Linked DNA regions of Homo sapiens: region 2 is linked to region 1. Evidence: promoter capture Hi-C in human tissues and cell types (Jung and others, 2019). All regions are on one chromosome and are shown on one strand. The core of a region is centred on a gene start or on the middle of the fragment in contact, and the rest is flanking DNA. Distances in the headings are between cores, read along the strand shown. Region 1 holds the start of ZC3HAV1L (ZC3HAV1 like). Region 2 overlaps UBN2 (ubinuclein 2).

Evidence for each region. Contacts are between HindIII fragments. The study calls those that stand out against the background at their distance.
Region 2: a fragment that was not itself captured here is called in contact with the fragment with the promoter of ZC3HAV1L in region 1 in 1 of the 25 tissues and cell types used here (mesenchymal stem cells).

Annotation. Positions count from the first base shown.
Region 1 is chr7:139,033,825-139,040,030 of GRCh38, forward strand. It overlaps ZC3HAV1L (ZC3HAV1 like), which reads right to left and starts at 2,218. Exons shown (of 5, transcript NM_080660.4): 1 at 1,829-2,218; 2 at 719-854. The coding sequence starts at 2,193. It overlaps LOC107986852 (a long non-coding RNA gene), which reads left to right and starts at 2,359. Exons shown (of 2, transcript XR_007060557.1): 1 at 2,359-2,547; 2 at 2,829-3,126. RefSeq lists silencers at 1,531-2,050, 2,301-2,510 and an enhancer at 1,625-2,544. The HindIII fragment of the contact is 9,430 bases long and covers 1-4,777 here.
Region 2 is chr7:139,277,389-139,283,594 of GRCh38, forward strand. UBN2 (ubinuclein 2) reads left to right here. Exons shown (of 18, transcript NM_173569.4): 13 at 1,930-1,972; 14 at 4,617-4,667; 15 at 5,636-6,206. Among named protein-coding and RNA genes, the nearest start is that of UBN2, 49 kb to the left of the region's middle. The HindIII fragment of the contact is 3,186 bases long and covers 3,364-6,206 here.

The DNA of each region.
Region 1 (6,206 bases), core at 968-3,467:
GCCTCATAGGTGCAGCCACCCTCCTCTCCCTTCCTGCCAATAACCTGCTTCAGCTACTGCTTGCATCTACTTTGGGCAACATGGTTGGTTGGAATGCCTCTGGCTCACAACCGTGACATACCAGACTTGGCTTCAGTGCTCGAAGAAATGAAACAGGTTATGCATGTCAGGAAGAAACCTGCTTGTTCCTGAGATCAACTCCAGGACTGCCTTCTGGGTACAGATTCTGCTGCCTTGAGAGCAGCCTCTGCCACCTGCACCAAAGGCTCCAGCTCCTACCTCTAGTCTTGTGGCTATCTTCCTTTCTAGACGCTGAAATGCATTAGAGTTAAAATCAGGCCACAATTATGAACTATCCTCTGTTTTCTCAACATCTCCCCTTCTTCCCATCCCTCTTCTGGCCAAGTGGAGGTGTCTATGATAGCATCACTGTGCTAGATTAGAAAATCTTGCTTTTAATTGGTGGTCTTAATTGATGTTCCAATTTTCTCTTGGGATTTGTACTATTTTGTTTTTAAAACTTCTTTGTGTATGGCTAAACTGAAACAAACGTACTATTTCGCCATGATAGCAATTATAAAGGGTACCTTTAAAGCATTTGAAACTGAATCATGTTGCTTCGAAGGCAATTAAAATTAATATGTAAAGCCAAAAGAAAAATAAATGGGGAAAGTACTTGTAGCAAATGTGACATGAGGGTGACTCCTTGGTGACTCACCTCTGGTAAAAGACAGGGGTCATTCTGCAAAAGCAGGATCCGAAGCTGGTTTTCATTGAGACCAAAAAGTCCATGGCTTTTCAGGACCTGCATGTTGACAGGTGTGTGGATATCATGGGAAAGGGTACAGGTAGACCTAAAAGAACAAAGCCCTCGGTCAGATGCCCAGGTGAAGAAGGACCAGTCTGTCCAATTCCTTGCCTTGAGCAGCTTTCAATGTATTTAATACATGTGAAGTTGAGTAATTTTCATGAAACCGGGGATAGTATGGCCTAATAAGCACTGATGGAAAATAAGAAAATTGGGTTGAAGGAACTCCTCTCCCAGGGTCATTTGAATTTTCAGTAGGGATGCTTTGAAGCCAAGGGTCGCCCACCTCGCCTGAGGATGCACATCTGTTCCGTAGGCGACTGCACCTGGCCTTCTCCCCGGCAACAGCTGCCACAGTCCACCAACGTTAAAAAGAAAGCGCCCCTATCCCCAGCACCGCTTTGGCGGGGTGTGTGGCTAGAGACAACCAAGGAAAATTCGGGGCTGTGAAGCACAGCCTGGGGTCAGGAGGCAGCCCCGAACCCCAGCTCTGGCAGTCAGGAACCACAGGGCCTCACCCAAGCCATCCAGCCCTGTTTCCTGGGGTGAGACTGGCTCAGCGCTGTTAAACCTAGAGGGCGCAGACCCGCTTCTGCACAAGTGTGTGGATATGGGGGAGCAGCGATTTCCGGCTAAAGGGTCCAGGGATCTCATGGGATCCTCAGACGCCCCACGCCCCCCACCTCCCGCCAAATATCACCAGAATAAGTGAGCTCCGAAGTCCCAGTCCGGATTTAACCCGGCCGCGTCGCGCAGGATCCGGGGGGGCGGGCGGGGGCAGCAACTTTTCTGGCGTGGGCGGTTGAGACGTCTCCATGGAGAGGACCTTCGCGCCTTTCCGCCCAGCTGCTGGAAGCGCGGGGGAGGACGCCCAGGAAAGGCCTGCGGGAGGGGGTCGTCCAGCCCCGCGTCCCCGGCCCGGGGCAGGACGAAGCCCCCCTTCCCGTCGCTCCCGCTTCCAGCAGGACGGCCAGGCCCGCGGCCAGCGCCCACAGTCCCCGCCCGCCGCCGCCTTCTCACCAGCAGTCCCGGTTGGGGCACTTGCCCAGCATGTGCCGGCGGCAGAAGTGCAGCTGGTCGCAGGCCTGGCACTCGCCGCGCTGGTAGCGGGCGCAGAGGCGCACAGAGGACACGGCCACCACCCTCCAGGCGGAGGTGCCGCCACCGCCCACCGCGCCGGCCGCCGCCTCGGCCTCCGCGTCCCCGAGGCCCTCCTGCGTCTCCACCTCCTGCAGCAGGAAACGCTCGGGCCCGGCGCGCTGCAGCACGTCCCGGAGCCTGGCCTCCGACAGCTCCACGTGGCCGCGCAGGTCCTTCAGGAACATGCGGCCGCCGTGGGCGCACAGCACCTTGGTGAGGAAGGAGCACACTGTGGGCTCCGCCATGGTCGCTGGCGCGGGCCCTGTGCGCGCGGCGCAGCGAGCCGGGGCGGGCAGGCTCCTCCCAGTCACGTCCACGATTTCCAGCGAACAGCCCGGGGATGGGCCTGGGCCTGGCGAGGGGTGGGCCTGCGGGAGGCCGGGCGAGGGGCGGCCCCGGCGCGTGGAAGCAGGGTACGGCGCCTGCGGATCCCCTGGACGTGGACTCAGGCGGGGACAGCGTTGATGGAGCGTCTGCTCCGCCCAGGCACCGTTCAGGGCGAAGCCTGGCCTTGAGGGGCTTGTATAGTGGGAGTCACAAAGGACTCGCCAACAAGACAACTGGTAGTGCTAGGGAGGCCTGCGGAGAAGGAGAAATAGGTAAAAGGTGGTAGGAGGTGAGTGGCCGGGCTGCTTCGCGGGAGGTGGCCACTAGCCACATGTGGCTGCTGAGCACTTCTGGGATTTTTTGTTGTTGTTGTATTTTTATTTTTGGAGACAAGGCCTCACGTTATCGCCCAGGCTGGAGTGCAGTGGCGCTATCGTAGTTCGCTGCAGCCTGGAACTCCTGGGCTCAAGCGATCCTCCCACCTCAGCCTCCTGAGTAGCTGAGACCGAAGGTTCGCATCACTAATTTTTTTGGTTTTTGTTTTGCTTTGTAGAAACGGGGTCTCCTCATGTTGCCCAGGCTGGTCTCGAACTCCTCAAGCGATCCACCTGCCTCAGCCTCCCAGAGCACTGGAATTACAGGCGTGAGCCACCCCGCGGGGCCTGCTGAGCTTTATTGGAAAGTGGCTAGTCCGAATTGAGATGTGATATAAGTGTGAAATACACACACTAGATTTTGAGGACTGAGAATGAGAAAAAGAATGTAAAATATCTCACTAACTTTATATGAATCACATGTTAAACATAATATTTTGGATATATTTGGATAAATAAAATGTTATGACAACTTCATGTGTTGCTTCTACTTTCCTAATGTAGCTATGAGGAAATTTTACATTGCAAATGTGGATTACCTTATTTTTGTTGAGCAGCACCAGTCTAGACCTGCCTTAAGCATCCATGCTTTTTGTCCAACACCTTGCTTGTTTCATGAACGTTTGTTGAGCCAACTACTAACGCAGTGACAGTACAAAGATGAATCAGACCATCAGAGAACTCAGCCAGCCTAGCTGCTATTTTGCAAGGTGCTCGTGAGGATTAAATGCATTAATGTCATGTAATGTAAAGAAGCTAGAGAGGAAGACAACTGGCCAGATGCCAGAAGACCTTCTCTGCCATGCTGTGAAATTTGGACTTATATCCCGAGAACTTTGGGAAGTCACTAAAGGATTTTCATCTGGGAAGTGTGGATGTCTCCTGAGTGCCACTCAAGGTGTGTCATTCAGCTCTGAGCTTTAATGTCTTCTCTTCAGCAAAACCTTTCCTGACCTCTCAAATCTAAAGTAGCTCCCCAGTCTGCATGGAACTTACCACTGATATTTTTCTTCTTTATTGTGTATTTATATATTTAGCTATAGAATTCAGGCTCATGAAAGCAGGAACCTTGTTTTGTTCATTGCTGTATCCCTACCACCTAAAATAGTACCTGGCCATATTGTAGGATAGGTGTTTTAGAAAGACCCCTGGCAGCAATGAGAAGAATGGATTTCTAGAAAAGCAAGACGAGGTGGGGAATAACAGAAAATAAACAGGATTTGAGGGACTATAACCCCAGTGTTATTTATGTTGAGAGTTTGCAGTGGACAACCCAAGGTAAGACGCTCAACAGGCAGGTGTATTCTGTATACAGGTCTAGACCTTGAGGGACATGAGAAGGGAAGGGATGTAGATTTGCGTGACATCAGAGCATTAGGTAACTGAGAGTTGATAAGATCACCTGGCAAAAATGAAGAGTGTGAAAAGGTGGGGGACGGGGGGAAAGAAGCTTGGCGAATACCCACATTAAATAAGCAAGTGGGGGAAGAGAAAAATAGGCAGTAGCCTACGTCCCCTTGGCACTCAGCATTTGTTCCTGAACTCTCTGCCTAAGCTTTTTCCAACAGAAGGAGGAAGCAGCCAGCAGGAAAGGCAGGCTGGAATTACCAAGGAGCCAACACCTCCAGGAAGAGCCTTCATCCAGGGATGTTGGGGAATTGGTGGTTTGAGGATGCACTCTCAACCCTAAAATTGGCATGAGGATTATTTTAAACTAAAGACATGTAAGATTCAATAGAGGCAAAAAGAAGCCTTCTTGAAGCTTCCTTTATTTCAGTAAAAGCAGAATCTTCTGGGAGTGAGGTTGCCATTCATCCCCTCTCCAGGGGTTTATGGACATGAAATAGAAAACCACGTGCACCTGCATAAACAACTTCCCTATGAACACAAACTTCCTTATCTCCTGTTTGTTCCCTAGAAACCCCTTTGTTCTTCCCATAGGAGCCTTTTTGCCCCCCTCTCTCCCCTATTAAGTTAGGTAAATAAATCATCATCACTTCTTTTGTGCAGTGCCATATGCATATATGTTTTTTCTCTTGTCAGTTAAATTTGCAGCCCCTCAGAACTGAACATAAGAGAGTGCAGGAAAAGTTTTTCCTCCCCAACAATGGATCAAACAGCCCAACTCATTCCTCGTGTGGAACCACTTGGAGGTGTACATTCCATGGTCTCCCAATGTTTCCTCAATGGAACTGAACCCCAGTTGCCCACAGCCACACCTGCTCATTAGCACTCCCCATACAGTCTTCCTTCCTTTCCTTGCCCTACCTCCCCATTCCCCTGCCAGTGTTTCTTAGGATCACCTCCCAAGTAAACTGTGTGCATTCAATCCTTGTCAGATTGCTCCTGAGAGAACATAGCCTAACATATAAACTGATAAGGAGAGGTTAGAGAAAAATGAGAGTCATTCATGGACACGCAGAGGAGAGAGTTTCAAGGAGAAAGTGATCAGCATGGTGAGATACTACAGGGAGGAGCTTTCCTACAAGGGAAAGCTTGTAGACAGTGATAACCTAGGCAGGTTTATTTCAGAGGAATAATGAGAAAAGGTAGATTTCTGTAGGTTAAAAAAAGAAGAATAGAAAAACCGAGGACTTTACTTCTAAAAGTAAGTAAGGTAATGATAATAAGAGGAAGACACAAGACTGAGAAAGGTATTTTATTATAGGAGAGACAAGCATAGTTACATGCTGAGTAGAAAGAGCCAGTAAGACCGGGCGCGGTGGCTCACGCCTGTAATCCCAGCACTTTGGGAGGCCGAGGCGGGCAGACCACGAGGTCAGGAGTTCGAGACCATCCTGGCTAACATGGTGAAACCCCATCTCTACTAAAAGTACAAAAAATTAGCCAGGCGTGGTGGCGGGCGCCTGTAGTCCCAGCTACCCGGGAGGCAGAGACAGGAGAATGGAGTGAACCCAGGAGGCGGAGCTTGCAGTGAGCCAAGATCGTGCCACTGTACTCCAGCCTGGAGAACAGAGTGAAACTCCGTCTCAAAAACAAAACAAAGAGAAAAGAAAGAGCTAGTAAGAATGGAAAGTTGAAAATAAAGGAGGCCAGGTGCGGTGACTCATGCCTGCAGTCCCAGCATTTTGGGAGGCTGAGGCAGGAGAATCACTTGAGTCCAGGAGTTTGAGATCAGCCTGGGCAACATGGTAGAACCCTGTCTCTACTAAAAATGCAAAAATTAGCTAGGCATGGTGGCATGTGCCTGTAGTCTCAGCTACTCAGGAGGCTGAGGTGGGAGGATTGCTTGAGTCTAAGAGGTCAGAGGCTGCAGTGAGCCAAGATCGTGCTACTGCACTCCAGCCTGGGCGACAGAAAAAGGTAGGAAGGAAGGGAAAGGAAAGAAAAGGAAGGAGAGAGAGAAGAAAAAAAGAAAGAATATAAAGGAAAGGGGAATTGTAATCAGCGGGGGATGTCCATAGGCAGTGAGATAGAATGGGAGACGTCAGAGGAACTAACCTCCGACAGGAGGGGAGATGCTTCTTCCATTCACACAACAGGAAAGGAGACAAGGATTAGAGCATCTAAAGACAAGTTTGTAGGCTTTGTTTTGT
Region 2 (6,206 bases), core at 3,707-6,206, 250 kb after region 1:
TAACATAAATAGTTCATGAACACATTTTATATGTTTTATGTACAGTATACTGTATTCTTACAATAAAGTAAGCTAAAGAAAAGAAAATGTTAAGAAAATCATAAGGAAGAGAAATTATATTTACTATTCATTAGGTTGAAGTGAATCATCATAAAGGTCTTCATCCTCAGGGGTCAACTGTATATCAGAGATGCATTGAGTTGGTTGTGGTTTTTGGTTCTGTTTTTTTTAGTATAAATTCTAAGTTGTTTGGTTTCATATATTACAGGTTTACTTTGTTGCAAGAGTTTTTGTTGTCTTTGAAATAAATTTTATGTACATACGTATATGTTTGTGTCAGTGGTATTTTCGGCTTTAATTTCCCTATACAGTAGTCCCCCTTATCCTCAGACAATATACTCCAAGATGCCTGCAGTGGATGCCAAAACTGCAGACAGTACTGAACCCTACATAGACTATTTTTTCCTATACATACATTCCTATAATAGATTTTAGTTTACAAATTAGGCACAGTAAGAGATTAACAACAATAATAAAAGAGAACCGTTTAACAGTATACTATAATAAAAGTTATGTGAATGTGGTTTATCTCTATTTCTGGAATTTTCCATTTAATATTTTCAGACCTCAGTTGACCACAGGCAACTGAAACCGTGGAAATTGAAAACTGTGGATAAGGGGGGCTACTGTAGTTCTAAAGCCATATATACATTACAATTCAGGTACAAATAATGCATTCCTTTAATTCTAAAGGTGTTTACAAAAGATGTCTCCCTCTCTGTCTCTCTCTGGCTTTTTTTTTTTTTTTTTTGAGATGGAGTCTTGCTCTGTCGCCCAGGCTGGAGTTCAGTGGCACGATCTCAACTCGCTGCAACGTCCATCTCCCAGGTTCAGGCAATTCTCCTGCCTCAGCCTCCTGAGTAGCTGGGACTACAGGCGTGCGCCACCACGCCTGGCTAATGTTTGTATTTTTAGTAGAGACAGGGTTTCACCATGTTGGCCAGGCTGGTCTCAAACTCCTGGCCTCACGTGATCCGCCTGCCTCAGCCCAAAGTGCTAGCATTACAGGCATGAGCCACTGCACCCAGCCTCCTTCTCCCTTTTTTTAAATAGCTTCATTATTATCATTAACTTTGTGTTTTGTTTAACTTTGTGTTTTGTTTTGTACCAGAAAGTAGGAATCTATGGGATAAGTGGGCCTAGAGGTCGTTTCCCTAAATGGCCTTCATAAAAAAAAAAAACATAGAAAATTACTGTTGCCTAAATGAAGTTGTAAATTGACAGTTTTAATCAAGATTCTTGTTAATCTAATTGATGACATTTTAGCCAAGTGAAATAGGCAAGGTGAAGTATTTTAGCTTGTCAACAATTTAATTATTCAACAAACATTTGAATACTTTGACTTACTATGGAACTTGTTCTTTTTTTTCATCTTCAAACTTTTTCTTAGTTTTCCAAAAGTTTCAAGATTCCATAGTAATTTTTCTTGCCCTTTTTCTCCCTGTCATTTTGACATTTTTTATTTGAATTTTTACATTACAAAAATTTTTCTTTAAAAGCTCAGGGTTTTTTTTGTTTTGGTTAAGTTAAATCTCATTCACACCTTCTTGGCATGGTTTAATTTGAGCCTGCGGTTCCTTGAAGCTCTTTTTTTGGGGGGGCTATTTTATGGTTTATTTACATTTAATTTTTTAAAAATTGTATTATCTACATTTCATGTTTTACTAGTTGTTTGGCCTTTCAATTAATCTGAATTGGGGAAAATGTTGCTACATACTTCGTATAAACTGAGCACTTAAATACGGTTCCTTCAAAGAGCTTTCCAAATAGCAGAAGGAATTATTTACCACATAATTACAAAGCTATATAACTTTCTAATGAGCAATATAACTGCTACTGAAATAGCCTTTTAAAATCTTTTTATCTTAGGGCAAAGAAAAAGGTGATTCCTGCACCTAAACCCAAAGTAAAGGTAAGTACTGAAACAAAATATTTAATTAGTTATAGTTGGTGAATGTTGAAATACATTCCTAAGATGAAAAAGATGTATGGTATTTAGCAGAGGTCAGTAGGCACTATAAGATAGATGTTTTCAACTTCATAATAATCTTAGTACTTTTGTATTTGGGAGAATAGATTCCTGTGTAGCAGTGGGGAATATGCATACACCAATTGTGAAGCTTAACTTTATTAATACTTGGAAATGCTAGGTAAAATACAACAAATATTCTTTCATAGCATAGGTGAGATTGAAAAATATGTAAGAAAAATTCATAAGACCAGAAACAAAAAAGGAGCTGACAGTGTTAATCTGTCGCTTACACTTTGGTTGCCCTTGGAGGCATTTGGCACTTTCTACCCATCACTTTATGGTTTCTTTTTACGTTTCTTCTCAGAGCATAGCAGTTAGGGTTTTCTTGGGCTTGTACAGGTTAAAACTTGGGATGAAATCTGTGTAAAGCTGGACCTTCAAACAATAACATCTTTAGTAAAAGAAAGGACTAGAAAGAAATCCAGCAACCAGCAGAGACATTAAGTGGCTGTCTTGGACTGGGTTCTGGTTTGGGGGAAGAATGTCCTTGCTGAAAAATTTTCTTGGCTTAGGAGTTTCAGTTACACTACCTCTACAATCTGAGAAAACGCCAAGCTGAAAAAGTAGCTTGGTTACTGGATTAGTAGTGACCCGGGGCCACTGGCAAAAGCAAATTCTCTTTGGTATAACGTGCCCTCTTCAGAGGCCTCAAAGGCATTCCTCCTATAAACCATGGCAGACCTGAGCTTGCAGTCTGAAATACAGAATACATGAGAGAATAAGTTACTATGAGTGAGATTCAGTAGGAACAATAAACAGCAGTTAGATCCCTAAGACGGACAAGTAGTGCACTTATGGAATTTAGTACATAAAATAATTTGACTGAAAAATTTTTAATATTTAGAGAAATAGAAAAGGGAATAAAAAATATCCTATCAAAATAGACAAAGTAGATTTGAAAGAGAATCAAAATATAACCTCTAGAAGTAAAAACTATAATCATTTGAAATTAAAATTTTAATGAAAGCTCATACTCTTTAGGTTTTACACTTTGCTCCATAGCCTTTGTCTCTTTGGTTTTTGTTGTTGTTGTTGTTTTTAATAGATGAGGTTCTTTGCTTATAAGATTGTGGCCAGATGGTCATTATATATTATTCTGTGGCCTTCCTGACTTTTTTGGTGTTAGAGCCTCTTTAAATGCAGGGTAAATAGTCTTCTTTTTCTTTTTCTTGTTTTTCTTTTGGAGACAGAGTCTCACTCTATCACCCAGGCTGGAGTGCAGTGGTGCGATCTCGGCTCACTGCAACCTCTGCCTCACAGGTTCAAGCGATTCTCCTGCCTCAGCCTCCTGAGTAGCTGGGACTACAGGCGCACACCACCATGCCTGGCTAATTTTTATATTTTTAGCAGAGACGGGGTTTCACCATGTTGGTCAGGCTGCTCTCTAACTCCTGACCTCGTGATCCACCCGCCTTGGCCTCCCAAAGTGTTGGGATTACAGGCATGCGCCACTATGCCCAGCCAGTAGTCCTCTTTTTCTTAATAGCCTACTTTGTCTTCTGATCCAAATAATATTGAGCCAATCTTTCATTAAATCTGTTGAATTTAGATGTTGTTTTGACACTTGACTTTATTTTTATTAGAATACTAAAGTCTTAGTACCCTCCATAAAGGATTGGTTACATTTTGATACATCTATTCAAACATATGATTAATAGAATAATAGGATAGGAAATTTATTAAATTCTGATACTGGTTGTGTTAGGATGATATGGGGGAGTCATCAGTTTTTTTGTATGTTTCCTTCTCTATGATTAAATTACTTTTTCATTTTCCCAAAATGGAAAAGCTATACTGTTAATGTGGTTTTTTTCTACTGTAACTCCCCATAGTGTTTCTAGTTATAAAGATAAGATAAGGAAATGCCTACAAAAGAAAATGCAAATAACCCGGAAAAGTAAGGAGGAAAGTAAAAGTATCTATAAATTTCTCCTCAGTCAGAGAATAAAAGCTCTTAGCTTTCTAGGACACATCTTCCTTCCCTTCTTCTGAAACTCTGTTCCTCCCTCCCTCCCTTCCATTCGTCCGTCCATCCATACATCCATCCATCTATCCAATCAGCTATCTATTTATTTAGTCTTTTATATAAATGGGATAACCTGCTTTTTTGACTCAGTTATATATCCTGAACAATTTTCTCTGCCAGTATAAATCTGCACAGTATTCTATTAGAGTGGATTTAATGGTTTTATAAATAAAAATTAATCAAAAAGTTATTTTAAAACAGCAGTTTTATACTAGTAATACTTCCAATATTGGGATACATTTCCTACCCTTTATTGTGTACTTTTTATAATGGAATTTTCACTAATCATGTAAGTGGATGGCATATCAAAACAAATGTGTTTCATCTGCATTACTCATTCTTCTTAGCAGACATTTGTGACCTTAATGCAGTTACACTTGTACTTCCAATTGGTAGTGAGGTTTTTAATCAGGGGTTTTAGAGTAAAAGCTTAGAAAAAATACTAAGGAAGTTAGAGTGTAACAGTATTCTTAACAGCTTGCTTATGTAATACCTTAGGAGGTGATGGTAAAGACCCTTCCTCTCCATTCTTTCCCCACTATGCTTAAGGTAAGTGCTATGGTTGTATCAATCAGTATGTAATATAACACTCTAGGTTTGTTTGGGTTTGTTTAAGAAACTAATTGAAGAGACTTTGATACGACTTTTATGTAATAGGCTTTTGCTTCTCAGTCTTAAAAATAAAATGAGTCAAATACTTTTATCTTTAAAAATAAATAGTTGCTTTTAAATTATTTTGCTCTTTGAATATTATAAACTGTGCTCTAGTTCTTTTTCTTAAATATTAAGAAGGTTGATTATTTGAGAAACAGACTCTAACAACTCTTAGGTATTCAGAGTTGTAATTCTTAATACCCTTGTTTTCTTAGCATAGAGCCCTGCTCACAGCGGACACTTAGTGGATATATATTGAATAAATGACAAATGAGTAATTTACAAATAAATTACAGATTCACCATAATAAATAGCATAATTTATTTATGCTTGGATTGAATCGTCTGCCACTTTGACGTACCAGTTTTTCTATGTACTGGCTGTAGGGTAGCTGCAGGACAGGGCATACAAAGAGGCAGAAATGCATGGAAGCAGAAAGTGAAGGTCAGCCTCCTAGCAAACCATCCCAGACGAGAAGGGGAGAGTCTTAATATAAAGGCAGAATTTATTCTGAGTGCAGGGGAATAAAAAGAGAATAATCTGAACAGATGGATTTGGAGCAGGATTTGAAGATCTAATGCAGGTGGGGGAGGCTCATCAGTAATGTAACTAGTATATGAATGTTCCTTCCACTTGGTGTTAAGTATGACAGCTATGTGCAATATATCAGATACTTTGTCTTGTGAGGACAGCTCAGTCAGGAGCTCTGTCATCTCAAAAATTATTTTTGTTTTGATAGTCTCTGAAGATTTCCAGTAGAAAAACAATTGTAATTGTCATGAGAATCTTTTAGTTATTTAAAATTAACTTTGTAATTTTTTATTCACCATTTCTATTTTTTTCCATATGATGCTTTACATTAGGAGTGTAGTCCAAAAAAGGACCAGAAAACTCCAACATCCCTGGTGGCTTCGGTTAGCGGTCCTCCAACGAGCTCCAGCACAGCTGCCATTGCTGCAGCTAGCTCTAGCTCTGCACCAGCCCAAGAAACCATCTGCCTCGACGACTCACTAGATGAAGACCTTTCTTTCCATTCACCTTCACTGGATCTTGTTTCTGAAGCTTTAGCGGTTATCAACAATGGGAACAAGGGCCCTCCAGTTGGCTCAAGGATAAGCATGCCAACCACAAAGCCTCGTCCAGGACTGAGAGAAGAAAAATTAGCAAGTATCATGAGTAAGCTGCCACTAGCTACTCCCAAAAAACTAGATTCTACTCAGACTACACATTCTTCAAGTCTTATTGCTGGTCACACAGGGCCAGTACCAAAGAAACCCCAGGATTTAGCTCATACTGGCATCTCTTCAGGCCTTATTGCTGGTTCTTCCATTCAGAACCCTAAAGTTTCTTTAGAACCTTTGCCAGCCAGGCTACTTCAACAAGGACTTCAGAGGTCAAGCCAGATTCACACTTCTTCCTCTTCACAGACCCATG